Linked DNA regions of Homo sapiens: all the other regions are linked to region 1. Evidence: promoter capture Hi-C in 16 types of primary human blood cells and fetal thymus (Javierre and others, 2016). All regions are on one chromosome and are shown on one strand. The core of a region is centred on a gene start or on the middle of the fragment in contact, and the rest is flanking DNA. Distances in the headings are between cores, read along the strand shown. Region 1 holds the start of COG1 (component of oligomeric golgi complex 1). Region 2 overlaps SLC39A11 (solute carrier family 39 member 11). Region 3 overlaps LINC00511 (long intergenic non-protein coding RNA 511). Region 4 has its middle 68 kb from the start of LINC02092.

What was found. Contacts are between HindIII fragments. The CHiCAGO score rates a contact against its expected background, and 5 or more counts as called.
Region 2: a contact is called between a fragment that was not itself captured here and the fragment with the promoter of COG1 in region 1, in 1 of 17 cell types (neutrophils). The highest score is 5.7, in neutrophils.
Region 3: a fragment that was not itself captured here is called in contact with the fragment with the promoter of COG1 in region 1 in 2 of 17 cell types (M1 macrophages and fetal thymus); the score reaches 5.7 in M1 macrophages.
Region 4: a contact is called between a fragment that was not itself captured here and the fragment with the promoter of COG1 in region 1, in 2 of 17 cell types (total CD8 T cells and naive CD4 T cells). The highest score is 6.4, in total CD8 T cells.

Annotation. Positions count from the first base shown.
Region 1 is chr17:73,191,642-73,194,665 of GRCh38, reverse strand. It overlaps COG1 (component of oligomeric golgi complex 1), which reads right to left and starts at 1,611. Exons shown (of 14, transcript NM_018714.3): 1 at 1,282-1,611. The coding sequence starts at 1,596. RefSeq lists a silencer at 1,120-1,329 and enhancers at 1,380-1,659, 2,290-2,339, 1,625-2,384. The HindIII fragment of the contact is 5,644 bases long and covers 1-2,898 here.
Region 2 is chr17:72,673,217-72,675,916 of GRCh38, reverse strand. The region is part of intron 7 of SLC39A11 (solute carrier family 39 member 11); the gene reads left to right. Among named protein-coding and RNA genes, the nearest start is that of LINC00511, 34 kb to the right of the region's middle. The HindIII fragment of the contact is 6,689 bases long and covers 1-2,700 here.
Region 3 is chr17:72,614,940-72,617,688 of GRCh38, reverse strand. All of the region lies in intron 3 of LINC00511 (long intergenic non-protein coding RNA 511), which reads left to right. Among named protein-coding and RNA genes, the nearest start is that of LINC00673, 24 kb to the right of the region's middle. The HindIII fragment of the contact is 4,164 bases long and covers 1-2,749 here.
Region 4 is chr17:73,717,768-73,720,739 of GRCh38, reverse strand. No RefSeq gene overlaps it. Among named protein-coding and RNA genes, the nearest start is that of LINC02092, 68 kb to the left of the region's middle. The HindIII fragment of the contact is 6,543 bases long and covers 1-2,972 here.

The DNA.
Region 1 (3,024 bases), core at 362-2,861:
ATGGTGAAACCCCGTCTCTACTGAAAGTACAAAAATTAGTCGGACATGGTGGCAGGTGCCTGTAATCCCAGCTACGCGGGTGGCTGAGGCAGGAGAATCGCTTGAACCCGGGAGGCGGAGGTTGCAGTGAGCCGAGATCGCGCCACTGCACTCCAGCCTGGGTGACAGAGCGAGATCCTGTCTCAAAAAATAAAGAAATAAAAATTCTTTTTTTTTTTTTTTTTGAGACAGAGTCTCGCTCTGTGGCCCAGGCTGGAGTGCAGTGGCGCGATCTCGGCTCACTGCAAGCTCCGCCTCCCGGGTTCATGCCATTCTCCTGCCTCAGCCTCCCAGGTAGCTGGGACTACAGGCGCCGGCCACCACGCCTGGCTAATTTTGTGTATTTTTAGTAGAGACGGGGTTTCACCGTGTTAGCCAGGATGGTCTGGATCTCCTGACCTCGTGATCCACCCGCCTCGGCCTCCCAAAGTGCTGGGATTACAGGCGTGAGCCACCGCACCCGGCCAATAAAAATTCTTTAGGAACGCAAGCTGCAGCTCCAATATGAGGATGTGTTTGTTTACCTCCCATCCTTCCTCATTGTGTCTAATCAATAGCGTTTGGGGGGAAGAACACGGGATAAGGAGAACCTGAATGAAAAAAGCCTTAGTTCTGAAAATGAAAATGTTCAGCTATTAAAAGGTAAGGGCTTGGCCGGCTGTGGTGGCTCATGACTGTAATCCCAGCACTTTGGGAGACCCTGTCACATACATACATAAAGTTAAGGGCTTGATAGCTGGTACCCTCAACAACTCCCAAAGGGTAGAACAGCTATTTGGGGTTGTGGAAGTTATTCTTGGGGAGATAAGGGGAAGGTTGGGATGAGGAAGAAATGACTTGGAGTGCAGGTGTCAACATAGGGGAGAAACCTGAGGAAAAACAATGTCAGGACATGTTATATAGGTGAGCGTTGAACTGTCAAGACAGAAACTCCTGGCGTTTTCCGCTAAAATTGAAAGGAGCCCAGTGAGGTGTAGGAATCAAGGCCCGGAAGTCGGGGGAAAGCGCCTGAAGAAACTGTTGAATGGCATTTCCAGAACGGATCAGCAGCCGCATATGTGCAAGGAAGGCTGGCACTGTCCTCTGAGGGGGGCCCAAAGGGTGAGGGGCGGATAGGCTCCTGGCTAAGGAAGGTGAGGACTCGCGGGGTCTGGGACTGACAGAGGGGGGCGGGGTTGACCTGCAAGGCCAGGGGCTCCGGGACCCGCCTGCGGGTCGCAGGGTGGGGGCACGGGGACTGACCTGCTGGGCCCGCGGTGGCCGGGGCGCGGCCGAGCCGGCCTGGCGGAGGCGGGCGCAGTACTGGTCGGTGGCCTTCACGGCGTCCACTAGCCCCACGGCGCAGCGGCGCATCTGGCCGATGGTGTCGGCCGCCTCGATCAGGTCGCGGTACCGTTCGCCCACCATCTGCCGCAGCTCCTCCTTCTTGTGCTCGATCTCGGCCCGAACCTGGCGCTCCAGCCCGCGGATCTCCTCCGCTCCATGCGTCTCGAAAAGAGCCGCAGGGTCGCGCAGATCCAGCCGCTTCAGCGCGGGTGAGGTTGCCGCGGTGGCCATGGTGCACTCGTCAGCCCCCGGCGATCTACCTACGCCCTTTTAGTCCCGCCCCCTCCGCCATCTTCGTTGGGGGCGGAAGCGCTTCCGCCCCGCCGGGGGCCATGTTTGTTACCCGAGGGGGCGGGCGCGAGGGGGCGGGCGCGAGGGGGCGGGCGCGAGGGGGCGGGCGCGAGGGGGCGGGCGCGAGGGGGCGGGCGCGAGGGGGCGGGCGCGAGGGGGCGGGGGCGGGCGCGGGCGCGGGGGCGGGCGCGGTCCTGCGCGGGGTTTTCTTAAACGGAGCCGGCTGGGAAGTGAGGTCGCCAGAGAGGTGAGGTCGCCAGGTTGGCTGCGAAACTGTGGCTGAAGTCTTCCCTTTCCCTTAGGAGCAGAGCTTCTCTGTGGAGTTAGGTGTCGGGATCGGGCCCCGCGGACTGACGGCGTTGGCGCAGGCGCAGCCGCCGCTCTCCGCGCGCCTGGCGCCCGCGAGCAGACTCGGGCGCGCTCGCCGCCGCTGGGTCTCGGATCGCACCCCGCGTGCAGTTTTAGGAAGAGGGACATCCGCGCCCCTCGCTGTTCCCCGGGAAGAGCTACCACGCCGCCCCTGAAGGGGTTCTGAGCGCTTGTTTGGCGTCTGCTTTTCCTCTGCTGTTGATTCGTGTTGGAGGTTTTCCATTTCGTTTAAAACCGATGTTTAGCCCCTGAAGACGTTTTCCCTGCGAGAGCCTGACCTTGGTGGCCATGGGGGAGGAGGGCGGCGGGCTGGGCGGGAGAGGCTGGGACGCCCCGGGGAACGCAGCGCCAGACGGGTGGGCGCTCCTCACGTGGCCCAGGAATAGTAGAATCTGGAGATTGTGGCTTGTTTCTGCTAAGTCCCAGACCCTTCTTTTTTTTTTTTTCTGTTTTAATTTCTTTTGGAAGATTTCACCCACACCAGTGTCGACAAAATGATGCAATGTGCGCAGCGGCCATGCTGAGCCCCCAGCAACTCAGGGCCTACCCTGCATCCCTGCTCATTCCCTCTCCCACCCGCCACCTCCGGACGCACAGAATTTCAATCTGCAAATAAATGGTGCATTTATAATATTCCAGTTTAACCCGCAAGAGCCTTGCGGCGTAGGGAGTATCATTCTCACTTTACAGACTCATTTTACAGATGGGGAAACGGGGGCCCGGAGAGGCAAAGGGTTTTTTACTCAGTAAAAGTGCAGTTTTCAGAGCCTGTCCACGAGATTATCTCATTTTCTCGCACATCGGCCATGCCAGGTAGGTAGGAGTAATATTCCTAGTCCATTTATGAGGAAAAAAAAAAAAGAAACAAAAGCTTATTTACCTGCCCAAATTACATAGCTGATAGGTGACCCAGTGAGTATTTGGACGTCGATTTTTAAATTACTGGCTCGCGCTCTTTTCTACGTTTTCACATAATTTCCCACAGAGCACCCTCTGTTG
Region 2 (2,700 bases), core at 37-2,536, 520 kb after region 1:
ACCTGAGCTTAGGAGTTTGAGACCAGCCTGACCAACATGGTGAAACCCCATCTCTACTAAAAATACAAAATTAGCCAGGCATGGTGGTACGTGCTTGTAATCCTAGCTAGGAGGCTGACGCAGGAGAATCACTTGAACCCAGGAGGCGGAGGTTGCGGTGAGCCGAGATTGCGCCATTGCACTCCAGCCTGGGCAACAAGAGTGAAACACCATCTTACACACACAATTGGGACATCTGGCGCCGGGCATCACACACTGGCAGCACTCACAGAGCAACGACTAGAGACCCAAGTTCTCAGCCAGTTTGCTGGGACTCCCAGGGCTGTGCTCAGCCTGTTGGCAGCTAAGGTCTTCCAAGAGTGTCTTGTCATAGAGAAGCCACGAAGGCAAAGGAAGGGGAGGTTGGGAGATTATGTTGACTGTTGCTACATGTCTTAGTCCATTTGGGCTACCAAAACAAAATGCCGTAAACTGTGTAGATTACACACAACAGAAATTTATTTCTGACAGTTCTGGAGACTGGGAAGTCCAAGAACAAGGTCCCAGCAGATTCAGTGCCCGTGAGGACCCACTTGCTGGTTCGTAGATGGTGTTTCCCTGCTGTGTAGCCTCACATAGTGGAAGAACTAGCTAGCTCACTGGGGTTTCTTTTATACAGGCACTGATCTCATCCATGAAGGTGGATCCCTCATGACCTAGTGACCTCCCAAAGGCCCCAGCTCCTAATACCATCACAATCGTGATTAGGTTTCACAATATGAAATTTGGGGGCACACACACATTAGACCATAGCGCTATGGAAGGGAACATAGTAGCCTGTTGACAACTAGCTCTTTGTGTATGGAAGCGGGGGGCAGTTGTTCTCTCAGATAGATGGATAAACTTTCTCTCTCTCTTTCTGTCTCTGTGTCTCACACACACACACACACATACGCACACACACTTTTTTTTCCAATGAACGACTTGACACTTCAGGATCCTTCTCATCTATGTATATTTCAGTGGCATCTTTTAAGAATAAGGACATTTTGATAGAAAAATTGGGGGAAAGATGTGACCAGATAATTCACCAAAACACGTTTTAAAAATCATCCTCAAGCAGATGAGAAAAACGCTGAAACTCACCTCCTCATTATAAACATGCTAGTTGTAACAACACTAGGACACCATTTCTGACCTATCAGTGGGGAAAATGTAAAACTGTGAAATTATACTCTGTGATGAGGATATGGAGAAATGGCTCTCTCATACCTTGCTGGTGGGCATGCAAATTGGTACAACCCTTCTGGAGAGAAATTTGGCAATATCTAATAAAAGTACATACGCATTTCCTTTTTGATCCAGGAAACCCACTCCTAAGAATCTACCCTAAAGATACACCTCCAAGAATATGAAACTACGTAGACACACAAGGTAATCCATTACAACATTGTAATTGCAAAATATTGGAGGCAACCTAAATGCCCATATGTGGGAGAGTGGATGAGTAAGCTATAGTGTAGCCACACCATGGATTAGTATATAGCCATCAAAAAGAGTGGGAAGATCTCTGTGAACTCATTTAGAGGAGTTTTCAGGATATACTGTTAAATGAAAAAAGCTAAATACAAATGAGTATCTGTAGTATACTGTCACTGATGTAAAAAGGAAGGAGATATAAGAAAATACACATATATCCACTTACTTGTGCAGAAGATACTTGGAAGGATAAAACAGGACCAAAGAAGACAGATTACCTAGAGAGGGTATGTGGCAAGGGAGGGAAGGAGGGAGTAGGGGTGGGGAACAAGGGTGAGGAGGAAGTGACAGTTGTCTATACAAGTCTACCTTTATTTATTTATTTTTTTTAAAGACAGAGTCTCACTTCATTGCCCAGGCTGGATTGCAGTGGCACGATCTCAGCTCACTGCAGCCTCCTTCTCCCAGGTTCAAGCAATTCTCCTGCCTCAGCCTCCCAAGTAGCTGGGATTACAGGCCCATGCTACCACGCCTGGCTAATTTTTGTATTTTTAGTAGAGACAGTATTTTACTATGTTGGCCAGGCTCATCTTGAACTCCTTCCTGACCTCAAGTGATCCGCCCACCTCAGCCTCCCAAAGTGCTGGATTACAGGTGTGAGCCACTGTGCCCGGCCAAGTTTCCCTTCTTGAATAACTCCGACTGTTTCTTACAGAAGTGTTTCACATTGCCCCAAATCAATAAATAATTAAACCAAAATATGGGGGAGCCCAAATGGAATACAAGCAGTAACAAATGAAACTAAGTTGTATTACAAATGAATTACATAACCACACCAATCTCTTTGGAAAACAGTCTTTTGAACAGATACTACAAGGCTAAAGGCAAAAAGAAAAAAAAAACTGTGCAAACATTGTTCTCTGGATGGTAAATCTTTTTCTCACAGGAATTCTATTACCACCTGATGTGCAAACTATGATTAAATAAATAAGATACATTGTAGATACAAGAATCTCATCCTCAGTGTTGGCAAAAGAAGATACAAATAGAGAAAGAGGCCGGGCACGGTGGCTCACACTTGTAATCCCAGCACTTTGGGAGGCCGAGGTGGGCAGATCACTAGGTCAGGAGTTGGAGACCAGCCTGGCCAACATGGTGAAACCCCGTCTCTACTAAAAATACAAAAACTAGCCAGGTGTGGTGGCACACACCTGTAATCCCAGCTACTCAGGAGGCTGAGGC
Region 3 (2,749 bases), core at 31-2,530, 580 kb after region 1:
CTGTGTGCTTGCTCTGTGCCCAGTGCTAGGTGCTTTCCATGAATTCACTAATTCCTGAAACCCACAGGTAGGTCCTTTTATTGCCCCTCTACAGAGACGAGAAAAACTGGGTCTTGCTGAAATTAAACATCTTGCCCAAGGTAACGTAGCTCCGAAGTAGCAGAGACAGGAATTGAAATTGCAGAGCTTCCTCTCGAAGCCTCTAGATGCTAGCCTACGTCTTCAAAGATGCCCATCAATCAGAGATGTAGGACAGTCTTATCTCTGGAATCTTCCTTGGTCTTCTTGTTCTGGCATTGATCAGCTGGTGTGTCATACACACACACACAGGCACACACGTACACACACACATTATATATATGCATACATGCCATGCATACACATCACATACAGGTACAAGCACACGCATATGCACAAACATTGCACATCACACACATCTACACACACATTACATACATGCACATGCACATCACATACACGCACACACTACAGATATAATCCCTCCCCAACTCCTCCACAGCCCCCCACCACAAACCTTTAAGGTACTGACATGACTGTAACAGAGTCATTGACCCTCAGTGGATTCTCCACCCCTGGACAACTGTGGAAAGACCAGTGGCATTCCTGGGAGTACTTTGACGGTTGTACAGGGCCCAGCAACTCTTGGCTGCCACAGCCCCCTGAAAAACAATGGCCTTGAAGTTGTCCACCCTCACTGCGCTGGGCTACACTCATTGGGTCATGCTTCATTTTTGCAGAAGGCCCTTCTGTGAGTACTTTAAATTCCTGAAAAAGCTCATTACATTTTGCCATGGTCCTGAGATGGTGACTGGGGACTGTCCCTGCTCTCATTGACTTGACTGAATTGAGGTCCAGATTAAGCCATAAAACAAAACCCAAAATGCAACCTCCCAAGCCCCCAACATGCCAAGACTGGCAGAAATTCTGAGACCAGGTAAAAGATGCTGCGCCCCCTCAAGTCTGTTCAATGATCAGGCGGGGACTAGGGAATGCTGGTTTGACTGGTGGGCTCCTCCCCTGCCTTCTCTGTTGGGGGTCGTGTTTGCTTTGTGTTCTTGGCCACAGGGTTAGCAGGAAGGAGATCACCAATGCATCGTTGCATGTGCTGTTCTTTGATTTTTCTCCATTCTTCACCCTGGAAGAAGGAGTGAATTTATGGACCTGTTATGGACTGACAGATGCCCTCTGCAGAATTAGAGGCAGCCTGGGATGGAGGTTGGGTTCTGAGACTTACATCTTGAGCAGGATTTCTCAGTCTCAGCACTGTGACATTTGAGGCTGGATCATTCTTTATTATTATTATTATTTTGAGACAGAGTCTTGCTCTGTTTCCCAGGCTGGAGTGCAATGGCTGGATCATGGCTCACTGCGACCTCCACCTCCTGGGTTCAAGCGATTCTCCTGTCTCCACCTCCCGAGTACCCGGGATTACAGGCGCCTGGCACCACACCCGGCTAATTTTGTAATTTTAGTAGAGATGGGGTTTCACCATGTTGATCAGGCGGGTCTTGAACTCCTGACTTCAGGTGATCCAGGTGATCCACCCATCTCGGCCTCCCAAAGTGCTGGGATTACAGGCATGAGCCACCACACCCGGCCTGGATCATTCTTTATTACAGGGTTTTGTCCTGTGCCTTGTAGCGTGGTGAGTAGCATCCTGGCCTCTACCAACTAAATGCCAGTACCACCCTGGCTTCCCAGTTGTGACCATGAAAAACCTCTCCAGACGTTGCCCAGTGTCTCCAGAGTAGGGGGAGGGGCAAAAGTGTGTGGGTTGAGGAGCACTCATAGAGACGACTTCAAAGTTTTGGAGCACGACTGACTTCCTGCCAACAGTCACTCTGCCCCTCAGTCCCTTTGCTTCTCTCTCCATCCTTGCCCTTCCCATCTGTTCAATGGGCACTTCGATGGCCATGAACTAAACCATTTACTCTGTGAGTCAGGAGGAAAGCAAAACCCCAGCCACATCTCACGCTGGAGAAACAGGACTTTCTTTCCTTTCCCCTCAAAGTTCTAGTTTTCCGCAAGGTCCCCAGATGGCCAGCTGAGAGCCTCTCGTCCACTCTGCAGGCGGGGACAAGCAAGCAACACAAACACCCTCTGTCCTTCCTCCAAAGGGAGAAAAGAGTTTTCCTCCCTCCCTCCATCCTTCCCCTCCCCTTTCAGAAACTCTTGGGTTGTGTTCACCGCCACCCCCGCCCCCGCAACCCGGCCCCACTCAGTCCGCTTACACTGCCGACCCCTCCCCAGCCATTCCCCGTTCACTTCCCTCCCCTTCCCCTGGTACACCTGACTTATTTATTTATTTATGGCTGGAGTATTTGAGCTCAGGGTTAGTTCGAGTCTATTAAGTTTGCTCCTTTTCCTGCCTGGGAACCCGGGTAATGAGTAACCATAGCGTGCTTTGGGCAGCTGTCTCCGACAAACCGAGAGACGCCGTGGGAGCCGCATAAGGGAGCGTTTGTTCTGTGCCTTCTCAATAGTTCCTTGTGCAGGAGGCAGGGTGATGGGAGGGAGGGAGGGAGAAGGGAAGAAAGAGACAGACACTAAATCACTGCACTTTTGACAATTCCTCTCTTCTCTCCCACCACCCATCCTCCCCCACCTACACCGATCAGATCTTTGTGGTGGACTTAAGACTTTAAGACTTTTGTTGCTGTTTCCATGAGCCTGGGGAGAGGCTCCTGTGTACCTCGTGGGGGTACTTTTGGGTGAGTTGCAGACTATA
Region 4 (2,972 bases), core at 243-2,742, 530 kb before region 1:
GACAGGCAGCAGGGGAGGAGGAGGAGGAGCAGGGGATCAAGCCAGCACCCACGCTGGCAGCTGGAGCTTAGTCCTCCGGGGTCCTCTGGTGACCTGTAGAACAGATGCCTCCAAGTCCTCCCTGCTGAGGGCAAGGTAGCTGGGGTATTTATACACCCAATCCCCTCAGCCACCAGCTGAGTAGGCTGCTCTGGGGGAGGGTATTCATTTCCCCTCTTCTGACAAAGCAAACTTTTACAGCTTTAGAAAAAGCCCTCAGGCAAAGAGATGCAGACACTGGCAGGTGGAGTCAACAGGAGACCATGGAAGCCACCAGGCCCCGTCTAGCGCAAGCCACAGCACATTCTAGCTCAGAGCCCAAGGTTACCTTCCTGTCCTGTGCACAGGAGACAGGAGATTCAGCACCAGCGCTGGGCCTCAAGGCCTGCAGTGGCTGTTGTCTCGGGGCCCAGGGCTGGTGTCAGCCATACCAGCAGGTGGCTACGGCGGGTGACAGCCACATCGCTGCCTTCTTCCTCCTTGTGTGCCCTGTTCTATCCTAGAAGGTGGAAGCCTCAGGACACACTTACAGGAGCCTCTTTGCTCGGTCCCAATGCCTCTACCCTTTCCTGCTGCCACCTGGACCACAGAAGGCACAGCCAGGCCTGGGGCAATAATATGCTCCTAGAAACATCTTGGAAGTCCTTAAATCCATGACCAAAACACAAGTGCCCTACGGCTGGAGACAATCAAGAGTGATTACAAAAGGGCCACTGTGTCCTTTTCTTTCTGGCAGCAGCTGTTCCTGTCATGTGGTCTGAAGAAGTCCAGATGTGTTTGTGCAGGGTGCGGAGCCAGGCCCTCCCAGGAGCAGGGATGAAAGAGCGGCGGCCGGAGCAGCTGGTACACAAAAGAGGCTGGTGCAAACCAGACCCGGGGCGGGAGGCCTCGCAAGCCGCTGAGTGGGCTGGGATGTTTCTATGGACAAGGAGCCGGCGCCGCGCACAGCACGGCAAAGAGGCAGCAGCATCCACAGGCCTGGGGGCCCAGGGCTGGTGCTGAATTGCCTGACTCCCACGCCCAGGGTGGGAAGGTCACCTTGGGCTCTGAGTGGCAGTGTGCTGTGGTTTGCACTAGGCGGGGAACCCTGCAAGGACAGGCATTTTCTCCCAGCAGCAACTGGCCTTGAGCAAAAAGGCTTGTGCAAAAAGCCTGGCTGCTGCATTTGCAGCACAGAGGTCAGTGCAAATGGTGCATCAGCCGAGGAAGAAAGGCCGACGCAGGGGTCACAAAAAGACAGGGCACATCACAGCACCGGTCAGGAACTGTGAGGCGGGGGAGGCGGGGGGGGCACGTGAGAGTCCCCTGGGACAACCGTCAAGTGCTACAGTTATGGGACAGAAGTGGCTTCCCCCAAACCTGTTTCTCTCCCAGGCTCCTCTGCCTCAGTAAACAGCAACTCACTCCCCAGTTCTCAAGCTGGAAACCCTCGAATCATCCTCCACTCCTCTCTGTCTCCCACACCCCTCGCTCTAAAAGCTCTACTTTCAAAATGCATCTACAGTCCAGTCACCTCCAGCCACTTCCTCTGTTGCCACCACAGTCCAAGCTGCCGTCGTCTCTGCCTGTGTATAAACATGGACTTGCCCTCCGTCCTCTCTCAGCTGTTCTCTGACTGAAGTCTCTTCCTTGCACTCCTCTGCACTTGACCCTATGCACTTGACCTATGCACGTGCGCCTTCGACGATGATCTCTTTCTCTTTCTCCCCAGTGGAATATGGACTTTGCCTCTTTGGCTCTTCTGCTTGCCCAGTGCTTTGAACAGTGCCTGGCACAAGGTGAGTATTTGTTGAATTCATTCCAGCTGAAGACTCCAGACCCCGCAGGTGTCACTCTGCTATAGGTTTGTCTTGTCCCCTTGCTCAAGGGTCCTGAAGCAACTCCTAATATTTACCCCACAGGGGGAATGAGAAAGAAGCAGTCTTATCCTAGAATGCTGGAAGAAATACTCAACAATGATAAGCAATATGGGGGTAGGAACACTGGCACTGCACCATCTCTGTCTAATCCTCAGGGGGTCTAGCCTACACCATTGTACTATCTCTGTCTAATCCTCAGGGGGTCTAGCCTGTGCCACTGCACTATCTCTGTCTAATCCTCAGGTGGTCTAGCCTATGCCACTGTACTAGCTCTGTCTAATCCTCAGGTGGTCTAGCCTATGCCACTGCACTATCTCTGTCTAATCCTCAGGTGGTCTAGCTTGTGCCACTGCACTATCTCTGTCTAATCCTCTGGGGGTCTAGCCTAGTGCAGCTACTCCAGACACTTGCTGAGATGAATTGAGTGAACAGCCTCCCTTCCTGGTAGCCCAGGCTGGCTTCTCCCTCCTGCCTAGGGGTTTATCCTCTGTGTTCTCTTAGCTCCCTGAACGTTTTTCTAAATTAATGCATGTGACACGGTCTTAAGTATGACTCCTCTGACGCTAGCAGTGAGACTTTATTCTTGGTATCCCTGAGTCCGCCTGGTATTACTAAGTCCGTATTCTGACACATGACAGCTGCTCAATAATGTCAAATGGTGAATGAATGAATGAGTGAGTGAGTGAAAAAGTAAAAGCAAGATGGTGAACCCTAAACCAAAGTTAGCTGAAACCTCCTATAACCAGCAGGGACAACTACCACCCAAAGATGGTAGGATTAGATGATCCATCGGAAAGACAATCCCTGCCCAGGCTAATGGGAGAGGCAGATGCCCACATAAGAGATGCATGTGGATACGTCCAACAGCCACATCACAACACATGCATAGCTGTAGGCAGCAGCTCAGAACCAGCAGGTGACAGGCAGGCCAGAGCCATCCAGTAAGGCTCCCTGAGCCCTGGCAGGTCCAATCCAGGCAGAGCCCTAACTCTGTTCAATTGCAATCTGTGTTTATGGGCCCATAATCAAATGGAAACTGAAAGTTTCTCATGAGAATCATCTGTCAAAATTGCG